5 separate regions of the Homo sapiens genome follow, and all the other regions are linked to region 1. Evidence: promoter capture Hi-C in 16 types of primary human blood cells and fetal thymus (Javierre and others, 2016). All regions are on one chromosome and are shown on one strand. Each heading gives the region's core, a stretch centred on a gene start or on the middle of the fragment in contact. The rest is flanking DNA. Distances are from core to core; before and after follow the strand shown.

Region 1 (2,847 bases), core at 210-2,709:
CTATAGATAGATAACATACCTTAATTTTTATTTTATTTTATTTATTTATTTTTTTATGAGACGGAGTTTTGCTCTTGTTGCCCAGGCTGGAGTGCAATCGTGTGATCTTGGCTCACTGCAAACTCTGCCTCATGGATTCAAGCGATTCTCCTGCCTCAGCCTCCCGAGTAGCTGGGATTACGGGCATGCGCCACCACGCCCGGCTAATTTTGTATTTTTAGTAGAGACGGCGTTTCACCAATATTGGAGGGGCTGGTCTTGAACCCCCAACCTCAGGTGACCCGCCCGCCTCGGCTTCCTAAAGTGCTGGGATTACAGGACTGGCCACTGCGGGAGCTGCGGCAGCTGCGGCCTCTGGGTACGGGGTCAGCGGGCAGTCCTGTAATGGCCACATTACAGGACAGGCCATCGCGCCTGGCCACATGCCTTAATTTTCAAAGTCAAATTTGTCTTTAAAAAGAATGAATTCCTACCCTTTGGGGGTATTTATTTTTGCAACTAACTTCCATCCTTTTATTAAGTAATCAAACATAGCCCATTTGAATGTTGGAAAAGAACTGTCAGAAATACAAGTTCTTATTTTGTACTTTGGTAACATGAATTTTACACTTAGTTGAACATGAAGAATCAAAAAAGCTCTGGATTGTTGTAATAATTGTTTAGAATTTTAGATGTACCATTTGACCTTTGACTTTAAGATGAATTTCAGTGTCCTCAGTAAATAAAGGCTTACCCCCAACCTTAAATAGTGACGCACAAAGGCTATTATTACCACCACTGAGTGGCTTAAATAATCCTGTCAACAGCAATCGCCCATTTCCAAAGCCATGGTGAAACATCTCTGTGCTAATTTCTTTTGTTTTGTTTCCTAATTTTTTTTTTTTGGCAGGTGGTGGGAAATAATCTTTGTCTTCTTTGGAGTAAACCTTCAACACCGGATTTTTTCTTTTAATTATGGATGTAAACCCCAATATCCCCATAATTTACATTGGGTCTCGACCAATTGCCTAATTATAAGAGGATATATTTAGGCTCTTATTTCATCCACACAAAAACTTGTGTAACAGGTAGTTGGAAACATCTGAGGCACCACTTTGATTCTGTTTTGGATGGTCATGTTTTTTCTCCTCCGTTTCCCCAGCATGTCTGCCACCATCCTCATGCACTGCTTCCAAGTGCCTGGGAGCCTTTATGAGCGTCCCTAAACCTAAAAGAATCCAGAGGCGGGGCTCGGATGAACCCTCGAGATAAGCAAGTGAGCCGCTTCTCCCCTCTAAAGGATGTTTACACGTGGGTGGCACTCGCTGGAATCCAGCGCTCGGGCAGCCCTGGGAGGACGCGCTCAGCTGCGAGGAGGTGACCGGCGGCGGCGCGGGCAGTCCGGAGGGGCGGGACGGGGCGGGGCAAGGCGGGGGCCGGGCCGGAGGAGGCGGGCTCCCGGGATCCGCGGTGTCCGGCAGTAGAGCTCGCTGCAGATCCGGGCTCTGACCATGATTTGGCGCCGCGCGGCGCTGGCGGGGACGCGGCTGGTTTGGAGCAGGAGCGGCTCGGCAGGCTGGCTTGACAGGGCGGCGGGAGCTGCGGGAGCTGCGGCAGCTGCGGCCTCTGGGTACGGGGTCAGCGGGCAGGAGTGCCGCGGCGTGGTGCGCAGGCCTTGCGGGGGTCTGGAGAAAGCGGTGGGCGGAGGTGCCCCTTTGCCCCGGCGCCGGGTGGGCGAGGCGTACTAGCGCGTGGGCTCTGAGTCATAACACGCAGAGGCGCTCGAGGGATGGGCAGGGAAGGGTGCCCTCCGCGGCTGTGCTGACTTCAGGAGCCTGTGACTCTCGCGTTGAAAATACTTCACTCATGTTCACTTAGGCCATCCCTCTGTGAATTGCTACATAAAATACAAGACGCCGCAATCAATTGGAATTTCTCTGAAAGAGCGAATGATTCTTAGTCCAAGTGTGTCCCAAATACTGCAGTGGACATAGGAAAAACGGAACAGTTTTCTGGTGTTTGGTTACAATTCTAATTTGACCGGGCGTCCTGCATTCTTGTTTGCTAAACTTAGCCACCCTACTGCAGGAAGTGAAGGCGATGATTCCCGCTGAATGGCCAGAGCTTTTAGGATAGAGGCTGACTGATGGTGATGCCGCCTGCGGCTAGACCGAGGATAGTGCTTTCCTTACACTTCCTCGTTTGGAATATCAGCGGCTTCGGGACCTGCAGTGGAAGGGAACTGCGGCTGTGCTGCCCACGCCCGCGCGGCTGGTGCCTGGCGGTCCTGCCGGCTCGCACTTCCGCGCCTGCCACTGCGCACTTGGCCGGAGAGTCTGTCTCGCTATCTACTTGATCTGGGAGCTTCTATCAGTTTTGCAAGATTCTAGGAATCTCAAGTTTAACTTTCCAGACCAAGCTAGAGACCCCTCCTGAAGGGCTAATCACAGGCTGTTAAGTGTTTGACAGCTCTTTGAGGCCCCGCCGTGTTTTTTTCTGCGTATCCCTGGGGTCAATATAGCACTTTGCCTACTTAGCACACAGTAGGCGCTCCATAAATGTGGCATGACTAGGTGCTTCATCTGTGTTGAAATGAAATGTTTATTGTGCACTTACTTCCTCCGTGCATGTTTCTATTCATAGTTCGCGACAGTTTTTACCAAGGTCAACTAGAAATTGAAGGGAAAGGGTGTCTTCCAGAAACTTTTATTTGGGTAATATTTCAGAATGCACCTCCTACCTCCTCTCACTACCCAAGAAAACATTCTCTTGTGTTCTATTGGAGCTCCTTCAGTAGTAAATGCTGTAGTAGATGGTTTGGGTATGACAGTTTAAGTGCTGGACCTGAGATGAAAGGACTTGCTTTCT
Region 2 (2,847 bases), core at 212-2,711, 510 kb after region 1:
CCTCCTCCCTCCTCCTCCCTACCCCTCCTCCTCCCTACCTCCTCCTCCTCCCCACCCCTCCTCCTCCCTAACCCCTACTCCTCCCTACCCCTCCTGCTCCCTACCTCCTCCTCCTCCCTACCCCTCCTGCTCCCTACCCCTATTGAGTTTTCTGGCCCCTTTCTCTCCTTTATTCTTTCTTTCTTTTCTCAATTTGTAGCTATCAGTTTCTTTCAAGAACTGCTATAGCAACTTTGTACCCTTTCTTATGCAGAACGTCTTCTCTTTTCCACCCATATTCTTTCTGTCCCCTGTGATTCTAATCTGCTCTGAGGAAAAACTCTTTCTATCGGATATACGATAATTATGGTAAGAGAACAATAAGATTAAACACAAAGTCTCATTAAAAGGGCATACATTTATTGCAAATGATGAAAATAATGCAACCCAAAATAAGACTTTCATCCAGAAAAACATATAATACCTGAGTAAAGATTGCAATGTTTTCTATTCCATGGAAAACTGCTACTGAACCAAAGGAGAATGTTTTTTCCCTTTCTCCTCTGTTTTAGCTACCCACAGGAACTGTTCAGTTTTTGTCTTCCTTTCACATTTCCAACCCAAATATTATAGTAAACACTGTTGTTAAAGGTTATTGATGAATTGAGTGATATTATCATTCATTTTGCAAACACGCATATTTGCCAGGAATGATAGGGAGTTGAGATGCAAAAATGAATATGACATTTTCCCTTCAAAGATATTACAGTCCATTGCAGTATCATTTAAATAAATTATACAAATATATGTTAGCAGTGCTGTGATAAGCCTGTGTTTGGGGAGAGTGGGGGCACAAAAGAAGATCTAGACCATTTTTCACTGCAGTGTTTAGGTGTAGGTCACACAAGTCATTTTGAAAAACAGGTAATGATTAAATGCTCTGAAGGTGGACAATTTAATGCTGTGGAAATGAATAATGCTTTTCTAATGAATCAAAGTAGATATTGATTAAGGGTAAGGGCAGGTAGAGAGAAAGGTGAGAAATGATAGAAAAGCAGAATAAAGATGAGGGAAAAGTAAAAGGGAAGATAAATTTTGCTCAATTCACTTAGTCGATGCAACACATTCAAATTACTGGCAGCAATTTTCTCAGAAATGTCTAGTAGAGTTTCACTTTTTTTCTAGCTTTGAGGATAATAGCTCATCAAATTACACAGATAGACTATGAGATAATTGGAAATATCTAAGTGGTATATCAGTGTATCGGCTATTAGTGACTGTTAACGAGGAGTTGGAATAAAGCAATTTACCTGATGCTGGTATGCAGAAGACTCACTAGCTAGATACACAGTGAGGCTCTGTTAGTTATTGTTCAAAAATTCATATAGTGTTATTGACACGTTCACCTTGAGAACGTTTGTAGGTCATAGCTTTGCTATGGATGTGTAATTCTGAACACAGTAAACTGTTCTGTTCTAGTGTAGTTAATGAAAACAGGCAACGGTCTGCTGCATTGCATTACTGAAATATTACTAGAGCATTGTATTTCCAAAGTATTACTGAAATAGTTACCATGTTACAATTTTCTGTACTAGTTTTAGTCAGTGTTATGATTTGAATGTGTCTTCCCAAAATCATGTGTTGGAAACTTAATCCCCAAAGCAACTGTTTTGGGAAGTGGGGCCTAATGAGAGGTAATTAGGCCATAAGAGCTGAGTGAATGAATTAATATAGATATTGCAAAAGTAGGTTTGTTATAAAAGGGGGAGTTTGACCCTTCTTTATTTTCTGTCTCCCTTGTCCTTGCCCTCTCTTGGCCTTTCTGCCTTCTGCCATGGGATGATGCAGGACGAAAGCCCTCATCAGATGCTTACATCATGATCTTGGACTTCCCAGCCTCCAGACTGGTAAGAAATAAATTTCTGTTCATTATAAATTACCCAGTCTCAGCTACTCTGTTACAGTTACATAAATGGACCAAGAGAGTCAGGGAGACAGCATGGGACAGGTTACGAAACTTTTGCATCTGAGTCAGGCTCCTGTGCTCTGTCTACTCATTTTTAATTTTACCTTTGTGACTTTATTACTAGGGTGTCCTAGAATAAACCATTTAATCTCTTTGCACTGGGGCTTCATAATCTACAAATGGGAAGAGTAGGTTAGACAACTTCTGATCTCCTTTCTAGATATGACATTCTAGGATTCCAGATAGTGGAATACAATAGTGTGGCTTTTTGTTTCCCTCTCCTAGAGTGGATGAGAAATCACTTAGTTAGGCAGAAAGCCCATTTATAATGCTTTCCTGCCTCATATTTCCTCTCAGACACTATTGGTGTAGAACAGATATTTAATAGGTCCTTGTTGACTGAGTAATGTCCTTCCTATGGTCAGGAGCCCTCAGAGGCTTTTGTAAATGTTCTCAATTTAGACTTCAGAGCATTAAAGGAAGATGCTTCATTTTACCAGTGACATTTTTTTAATGATACAACTAAAAGCAAGGATTTAGCTTTTGCTTTATGTGAGTAAACAAAGTTGTTAAAGTCAGGCATCGTCCTGGAATAAATGTGAACTGCTGTAATTAGAAACTGTTTCTGTCATAATTACGTTCTAGAGGCTGAGGCGTGAGTTCATTTTAATAAATGGGAAAAGAAAGTAACCCAGGCCAAGGAGATTCATCTTTGGAAAAGAGCCTAGCAGAAATACAACATCATCCTACCTCAGAAACTGGATAAACAAATGCCCAAATGAGAGAAACAGAAACCACAGCTCCTAGAAAAAACTCTTGAACCATAAGAAGACTGTAAAAGAAAGGGGCTGAATTCTGACCATAGGAGGAGTCACGCAAAAATCTCCCTTTATGTGGTTCCC
Region 3 (2,847 bases), core at 122-2,621, 490 kb after region 1:
TAACAAATCTATAAAATAGATACTGTGATTATCCCTGCATTATAGATGTTTCAAAATTGGGGCATAAAAAGGTCATACAGCTAGCAAATAGTGGATTGTGGATTGGGCGTTAGAATCCAGGCCATCTGGCTTCAATGTGTACACTCTTATACCCCAAAGTATACTGTACCACTCCCTAGGCTTCACAATCTGCCCAAATAGCCTTTACATTATAATGAAATGGAAAAACTCTTTGATGATGGACAGTTGACAACCCTAGTCTCTTAGGATGGCATTATGAAGGAAATTATATTCCTCCTTAACATGGAAATAAAGATTGAGAATGGTCCTTGATTTCTGCTGAAGAGAGAATACATTATGTGAGATGAACTGACTCATAACATAACACTTTTATTAGGTTGAACCATATGAAATTGTGTTTTTATAAGGTAAAAATGGTAGCATATGGATAACTTTATGTGGTTCAAGCTAATATCTTTACTCCTGTTTAAGCCAACTTTTATTGGCTTCCACGACTTGTCTTTTCTTGGTAGATCAAGTAGGCAAATCACTTTCTTTCTCTAAAAATTTCTTTACCTTTCCACACTCTACCACTCCCACCTATCCCAAACATCTGGGCAGCCAGACCTGCAGCTTCCACTGCTTCAGGGAAGGATGATACACAGCGTGCAGGTGATACACAACTACAACAACAAAATAGGATTACTGGGCTTTCAAAGTTCAAATGCCTAAATCAGAATATAAAATATAAATTTTGGGGGCAAGTAGAAATTTTTCCACCTCTGTTCCCAGGTTAAATAAAGAGTTTTAGTATCAGAGAAGGGAAAAAAAGTCTGAGTAGCAGCAAGAAGCTTCTTTCCTGAGAAGATGAGAGCCAGTTACTAAGCAATGGAATGTATTAGTTATTACTAATCCTTATAATAATTTTCCTCAGGAAACTAATATTTGTTACTTAGTTATAACACAGGGTGGCTATACCTTCCTGTCCCAGGCCAATCCTGGAAGTGGAGGAGGGTGAGGGATGACAGAAATGTGTCCTATTTTTTGGTTATTGCCATGGATCACATCAAGATGCCACAGTCCTCCCGGAACTCCATGGCTTAAGTTACATTGTGGTTTATTTCATAGCAAGTCTAAACTTACCGACAGAACATATGTCCACTTTAAAAAAATAAAGATTTTTGCACACTTAAATTTGTTAAATTTCACACACTTATTTTTTTATTTCATATATATATATTTTAAATTATACTTTAAGTTTTAGGGTACATGTGCACAACGTGCAGGTTAGTTACATATGTATACATGTGCCATGTTGGTGTGCTGCACCCATTAACTCGTCATTTAACACTAGGTATATCTCCTAATGCTATCCCTCCCGCCTCCCCCCACCCCACAACAGGCCCCAGTGAAATTTCACACATTTATTACTTGACAGATTATGGTTTTAAATTTTTAAATCTTAAAATTCAGCTGTTCTCTTTTTTTTTGCATAAAATAAATGTTCCAGGTTTTTATAGACATAGTGCTAAGGACTGATGTTTCAATATTTATAAGAAAGATTGTATTTATAATATATTTTATTGTAAGCTATAAGGTACTTTATGAAGCACTTAGATAAATATTTACAATATTAGGAATTAAAGTATTTTCAGATCACTTTGACTTTATGTATTAAAAAGTCATGTACTATGTGAAACAGTAGATTATACAGATAAATAAGACACAGTCTGTATGCTTAATTGCATTTTGCATATTTTTTATGACTTTAATCTCTATTTGCAACAATTTAGGCAGGTTTACAGATTAAATAAGTTCTGCATATACATGCTGATAGACGTGAATATAGCGAACAAGACAAAGATAGAGAGTTTTACTTGGGCAAGCTTGAGTTAAAGAGTTGCTAGATAAACAAATCCCAAATAAGCAACATGAATCATGGTCAATTATGACATATGGAAGCCCTTGATGTACAGATAACCAATTTTGGTGTTAGAAAGAGAAGGACCTATATTCCCAACTGAGTCATCAAACTATGTGCATGATTATGAACAAGTTACTTTATATTATAAATGTTAGTTTTCTGAGGAAAATTATTATAAGGATTAGTAATAACTAATACATCTCAAGTGCTTAATAATTGATAAATTTTATTAATATTATTTTGTTGCTGATAATATTTTCCCATGATAATGCCAATTCACTATATATACCTTTAAAAGATTAGTGATCATGGCCATTATTTGAGAACAGTGTTTTCACTTATAATGGAAAGCAGTATTTTATCTGTAGTTACCCCTAGCTTATGTACACTGTTGCTGTCAATTCAAGGAGATTGTAAATGAATGGGAAAGAAGGTGACTATTTTTATTTCCAGCAATGTTTTGAACCAACCAAGTAACTGAAAATGCTTCCATTACAAAACAAAGAGATTTTCTGGCTAAAATAGTTTTAAAATTATTTTAAATTCATGGTTGCTCTTACTAGTAAGAAAGGAAAATTCTCAATTTCCTATACAAAGTGGGAATTGAAAATCATAATGGTAGGATGGAAAACTGGAATTGTGACTCAGCCTGGCAAATAATCTTTTTTGTTTCTTTCCTGGTTAAGGAAAAAGAAGGAAGCTAGCACCTGGGGTATGATGCATGTACATGTGGGAAGTTTGTATTGAGATCCACCAACCCTCTAATCTGTGTTTTTCAGAGGGATAACCATCAGAAATAGGTTGAACTAGAAAATATCTTTCCAGTGGCATAGGAGACAACAAGAAAGCTTAGCTCTCTTGGCCCTGGGCTGCAGATGAAAAAAATGAAGCCTTCTGTGATAATTTGTAATCATGGTAATGGG
Region 4 (2,847 bases), core at 217-2,716, 410 kb after region 1:
TATGCTTTTCTCCATAGAAAACAGCATTAGCCTTATTTCCTCCAGAAAAAACTGAATAAAACACTTTTTTTGTGGCACAGAGAATAGTTGCCTTACCCAGAGCTCAGAAAACCACATAAACAGAGGAAGAATGTAATCTTGGTTAGCATGTAAAGCATGCAGCTGACATTTTGCAAGGCTTGTTATTAGAACAACATTCCCTCCTCAGCTGTAAGGTGGGTGAGTATGCAGCTTAGAATTAGACAGTCTGCATCTGAATTACAGTTCACCATTTCCCAACTGTGTGAGTTTAGAATTTACAAAATCCCCATAAGCTTGAGTTTTTTCAACTACAAAAGGAAGTAAAAATATCTACCTTGCAAGGTTTTGTAAATAGGATATAAGACAGTAAATGCAAGATATTTAACATAGTGACTGGCAAATATTTTCATCATGAGTAAATATTATTGCCATGTAGTGATGGATCTCAAACTTGAACTTTCAGCATGTGAAAAACTAGATTCTGAAAATAATATCTGGATACTCAAGAAATCAATGTTCATAGTAGATTAGGATTGCACAAAACCAGTGAATTACCCACTAAAGAAAAACAAGATGCTAAATAAAAGAGAAATTCACACCAGAACAGACTATTTTATTAGCCATTAGTATGGCTAAGTGTTTTACCAGTTACTGTTTTACCAGCTAAAGTGTTTTACCAGTTCCACTGTGAGAAGGACATGGAAGTTTATTCAGATCCTCATTTTTATCTACCAAATACTTATCATGAATGCTATGCATATGACCTATTTGTTTAATGCATTCATATATATAGAAATATTTCTAAACATATCAATATGTAACTTATTAATACTTAGGATTATTTATTATTTTCATTATCAATTAAAGTTTTGGGTATCTCATAAAATGCTGGAAAAGGGAATATTTGGGGTATTATTTAATATACAGATAACTGAACTAAGTGGACCCGACTGACCACTATAGGCAAGATTCTTTTGCAAAGAAGGAGAAAACTGATGACCGGTATGAATAGTTCAAAAACCAAAGACTGGAGTCAGATATGCTTCAGTTGAATTCCACATTTTCCATTTAAGAGATTAGACAATATTCTTAAATTCTCTGAGACGTCATTTTTCTATCTATAAACTGAATGTAATACTGCCTCTCTCTGATGATTATTGTAAGGTTATAAAAATTTTTGAAGGTGTCTTACATAGAACTGAACACAGTAGGCACATGATAAGTATTAAGTTCTTTTGTCCTTCCCTTTTCTTTTGAAAAATGCCATATTATCTAAAAGGAAATTTTCTCCTTTTGGGGCAGGGGGTGTATAGCTTTGCTGAAGCACTGTAAAGTGTTTGATATAATCATAGAAAAAAGGAGAAGTAGAACTATTTCAGTTGGAAAACTAAAGGAGTGAGATAATCAATGGACATAATTTATATTTACAAAAATCCTGATAGTTAATAAAGATCTTCACACATATATGGACTTTCCTAATATATATAATTCAGTTTGGAAAGTGCTTTTTGTCCTGTTAAAAAACTTTTGAGATAAAATAAATATGAAGGTCATATCTTAATAAAGTATTGCTAAATTTTTATCTCAATTGTATTTTAGAGAAAACTAAAATCTTACATGTTATAAACTAGACTCAGGTAGAATCTCTTTTAAATAATTTAACACACATTTATAAATATGCACAGATATATCACTACATTTTCACTGTGCTTTATTTATCATTAATTTGTTATAACTTCTACTATGTTTATTGAGCCTTTTTGAGAACAGCCACTGTTCACCTAACTGTATTTTGCCAACATTTACTTATGATGTTCTTGATTTAATATGATAGGGTTTATTTTTAGGGACTAAAGAGAGTTAGAAAAAAAAAGAGTTAGTAGTTCACAGAAAAATCATCACCTTTATATACCCTTTGCCTATTACACACAGGTTTATATCTGCTTTGTAAAAGAACACTCACACAATACTTGTTAAGAACCTTGTCTTTGGCTGGATGCGGTGGCTGATGCCTGTAATCCCAGCACTATGGGAGGCTGAGGCAGGTGGATCGCTTGAGCCCAAGAGTTCGAGACCAGCCCGGGCGACATGGCGAAACTCCGTCTCTACTAAAAATATAAAAATTAGCTGAACGTGGTGGCATGCGCCTGTGGTCGCAGCTACTCAGGAGGCTGAGGTGGGAGGACTGCTTGAGCCCAGGAGGCGAAGTTGCAGCCCAGATTGCATCACTGCACTGCAGCCTGGGTGACACAGCAAAAAAAAAAAAAGCTCTGTTTTATGTGGTCTTTGGTCTTTCAAAAATTGCAGGATGGCTCATATTGACCCAGGTGAGCATTTTTTTTTTTTTTTTTTTTGCCAGTCTGATAACATAATTTCTGTGACTATTTTAAAGAACAGCTGACTTTAGTACACTGTTTTAATACTTTGCTTCTCTTAACAGGAGCCATTAAGTTGTGAGAAATTTTAGTACTCGAGTTGTGTTGAATTTTTTTAGTTTTCTTCATAGCATAAAACTTCTCCTGAAAAGGAAGAGGTCAATATGGACATCACAGTGGACAATTTCTTGGAAGGATGATTTAGGCTTATTATGAAGCTTATTAGGCTTATTATGAAGCTTATTAGGCTTATTATGAATTAAAACTTATTATTAAGTATTAATGTAAATTCTCATAGGGCCAGGCAGATAACATAAATGAGATAAGTAGGAAGAATGAGAAAGTGTAATACCCTAGAGCTGTGAGGTCTACAGAAATCTGTAGCCCACATTTACGTGGTCCAAATAAATCACTTCTGAGAGCTTCATTTGCTTTTTGAAATTCTTGGTGC
Region 5 (2,847 bases), core at 201-2,700, 320 kb after region 1:
CAGTACCTGATTTTTAATATGAAACTCTCTTTTGCCTCTTTATGTTTTGAGTTGGTTATCTGAATGCCTGTCTTATTTGCCTTTGCTTTCATGAGATAAGAACTATAATGATTCACCTTTGTTTCCATCTAGGACAGACTTTTCCATAGAGTGGGTGCTAAGAAAACATTTAATTGAATTTAATTAAAGAGGCTTTGGCATAGTAGGAAGTTCACTGATCTTGGAGACAGCGATTTGGTTTCAAGGCCAGGCTTTGGTCAGGATGCTTCCTTTCCAGCTCAACTAGGACTTTCCCTCTGGGGAGCCTCCTTGTCACCCACTCTACCCTGCATTCTGAATGAGCTCATTCTCTGTGTTTTCCCACAAACCTGTTCTTCCCTTTCTGGGGCACTTAGCACTATCCTGTGTCTCCTCTGTGAGACAGTGAATGCGCTGGGTTCAAACTCTGTCCTCTGAATCCTGTATTTGCAGAGATTAGTACCCCCCATAGTGCTAAAAAAATTGTTACATGAATAAATGGTTTAACTTCTCTGTGCTTAAGTTTTTTCCATCTAAAAATAATAATGTTAATAATACATAATATTGGGGTTTCCAAGAACCTCCCTTAGAAAAAAGGCTACCCCCCTTTCATAAGAACAGCAGTTGTTTGTTATTGAACACTTATTAGATGTTGACTGACCAGACGCTTCACATATATTACCATTATGTCCTACCCTGGTGCCACAATGAGATAGGTGCTATTGTTCCCATTTTATAGGTGTTTGGAGAGGCAAAGGCACTGCCCCAAATCAATAGCAAGCAAGTCAATGGCAGAGCTGGGATTTGAATTCCAAGTCTGTAATTTTTCTACTGTAGAATTTAGTCACATGCGTTTAGTGTTTCCTTAGGAAGCTCCTCTTGGTTTGCCATCAACAGGTCTCCTCATGGCTATCCTGGCTGTGTCATGATGGTCTCCAAAAGTTTGACTCTGAAAGTTAAGCTACTGAGATCCAGTCCCTAATGCATTACTGGGTACATAGTAAGTGTCTGCTCAATATACAATTGTTGAATAAAATAATGAATTAGTGAATGAAAAGCTTATAGATGATACTAGTAATTTATGAAATAAACCAAGAGACTCTTCATGTATGTGTGGCTAAAGAGTTTTTAAACACAACTAACCTGGGCAACATAAAGAAACCCTCTGTCTCCAAAAATACAAAAATTAGCTAGGAGTGGTGGTGTGTGCCTGTAGTCCCAGCTACTCAGGGGGCTGAGGTGGGAGGTTCATTTGAGCCTACGAGGTCGAGGCCGCAGTGAGCTGCAATAGTGCTGTAGGACTTCAGCCTGGGCGACAGAGCAAGAACCTGTCTCAAAACAAATAAACAAACAAACAAACAAACACTCACAACTTTAGATGACATACAAATATTCCTAGAAAGGTAAAACTGGAAGTGGATTCTCATTTAGTAGTGGAAAATGTGAAATAAGGGATTGATTAGTTAACTAGGGATCTTATTAAAAATGAACATTTCTACATTCCATTTACAGGGTTTGTTATATTTAAACCCTCCGTTTGTAAATGTGATATACAATGCTTTGTGAATTGTAAATTGCTAATGATACACTTAATATATTATTAAGGAATTGTTTTCTTTTATGTGAAAGTTGAAGAAAGAGTCCTTTGGGATTTGTTGAAACTCAAGGAAGAGAACAGTTTTGAGACTCAGGAAGATCTAAAAAGAAAAGGGCTCTTTTATGCAGGGAAAATAATGTTTTTCTGTTTTTCATTTTTATTTTTATTGTCAGTGTCTCCTTAGAAACAAATCTGGTTGACTAAGCTTTAACAAATAGATTCAACTGGAATATTTGGCTATTTCAGGGTAGCGACATCCTTAGATTCCGTTAGGTGAGAGTGGTGTATTGTCACGATGCACACGAAGTCTGAAAGGACAGCCAGGAAATTCTGAGCAAGCCCGCAGTGTTCAGGATGAGCAGCAGCTCTGGGGAGCCCGGGCTGATTCTAGTTGCCTGTCATGCTTGTGACTCAGCAGCCCTTTGCTTCCCTCAGTTGATTCCTTCCTGTTCCATCACTGATTCGTTACGCCTTTCTTCTCTCCTTGTTTCTGCCAGTGGCTTCTGCTTATTGCGTTATTTTAAAAAATACAAATAAGAAACCATTAGAGGCTTACTGTGTGCCAAACAAAGTCTCATTTTTACACTCACAGGGTATAGGGTGTCTTTCTTTTCTGATTATTCATTACCTTAGTCCCCAAATTGAGTGCACAGGGAGCCCCAAAGCCATCACATAAGAAAATATTCATGAATGAACAGAAGACTATATATTTCCCACCCAAAACTCCTCCCCACTTATTATTAGTCTTGGTGATTAACAAACCACTCATATACAATGTAAATGTAATTCAAAGCATAATAGTAAAATTTGCAAAAGATGTAGAATTTAATGAAGTTGTCAACAGAAAAGCCATTGATAAATGAGAATTTGGGAATGTGGCCAGTTAACAATTGGAGAAGATAAAATTGACGTGGATCACAACATAATAAACATGCTAAAAAAGAAAGATTTGAGTAGTAAAGTCTTGGAATAATTTTAGAAGTCATGGAATATATTCTTAAAAATGCGAAATGCAACGTGAACCGTATTATCCTAGCATTTTGTTTTGTCCTCCTAACTCCATGACTTGACACTTTGTTCATTCTAATACTTGGTATATACTGAAAGCTATAATCTAAATATTAGTAATATTTCAAAATACTTATTTTTATAATTCTAATTTTATTTTTAAGATAAAGTCATAATCATACTTTTGACCATTTGCTCAAAATTTCTGGACTCTGTTTTAGTGG

What was found. The method cuts DNA at HindIII sites, captures the fragments that hold promoters and counts their contacts. A CHiCAGO score of 5 or more calls a contact.
Region 2: a contact is called between a fragment that was not itself captured here and the fragment with the promoter of GLRX2 in region 1, in 1 of 17 cell types (neutrophils). The highest score is 6.2, in neutrophils.
Region 3: a fragment that was not itself captured here is called in contact with the fragment with the promoter of GLRX2 in region 1 in 1 of 17 cell types (total B cells); the score reaches 5.8 in total B cells.
Region 4: a contact is called between a fragment that was not itself captured here and the fragment with the promoter of GLRX2 in region 1, in 1 of 17 cell types (neutrophils). The highest score is 6.0, in neutrophils.
Region 5: a fragment that was not itself captured here is called in contact with the fragment with the promoter of GLRX2 in region 1 in 1 of 17 cell types (monocytes); the score reaches 7.4 in monocytes.

The regions. Positions count from the first base shown.
Region 1 is chr1:193,104,026-193,106,872 of GRCh38, reverse strand. It overlaps GLRX2 (glutaredoxin 2), which reads left to right and starts at 1,459. Exons shown (of 4, transcript NM_197962.3): 1 at 1,459-1,609. The coding sequence starts at 1,491. RefSeq lists silencers at 1,281-1,520, 1,300-1,594, 1,571-1,670. The HindIII fragment of the contact is 5,966 bases long and covers 1-2,847 here.
Region 2 is chr1:192,592,638-192,595,484 of GRCh38, reverse strand. LOC105371664 (a long non-coding RNA gene) reads left to right here. Exons shown (of 5, transcript XR_002958418.2): 3 at 1,828-1,886. Among named protein-coding and RNA genes, the nearest start is that of RGS1, 18 kb to the right of the region's middle. The HindIII fragment of the contact is 3,349 bases long and covers 1-2,847 here.
Region 3 is chr1:192,616,718-192,619,564 of GRCh38, reverse strand. The region is part of intron 2 of LOC105371664 (a long non-coding RNA gene); the gene reads left to right. All of the region lies in intron 1 of LOC107985241 (a long non-coding RNA gene), which reads right to left. Among named protein-coding and RNA genes, the nearest start is that of RGS13, 18 kb to the left of the region's middle. The HindIII fragment of the contact is 1,035 bases long and covers 854-1,888 here.
Region 4 is chr1:192,698,302-192,701,148 of GRCh38, reverse strand. No RefSeq gene overlaps it. Among named protein-coding and RNA genes, the nearest start is that of MIR4426, 17 kb to the left of the region's middle. RefSeq lists an enhancer at 1-58. The HindIII fragment of the contact is 2,300 bases long and covers 317-2,616 here.
Region 5 is chr1:192,787,540-192,790,386 of GRCh38, reverse strand. The region is part of intron 1 of LOC105371665 (a long non-coding RNA gene); the gene reads left to right. Among named protein-coding and RNA genes, the nearest start is that of RGS2, 20 kb to the left of the region's middle. The HindIII fragment of the contact is 744 bases long and covers 1,079-1,822 here.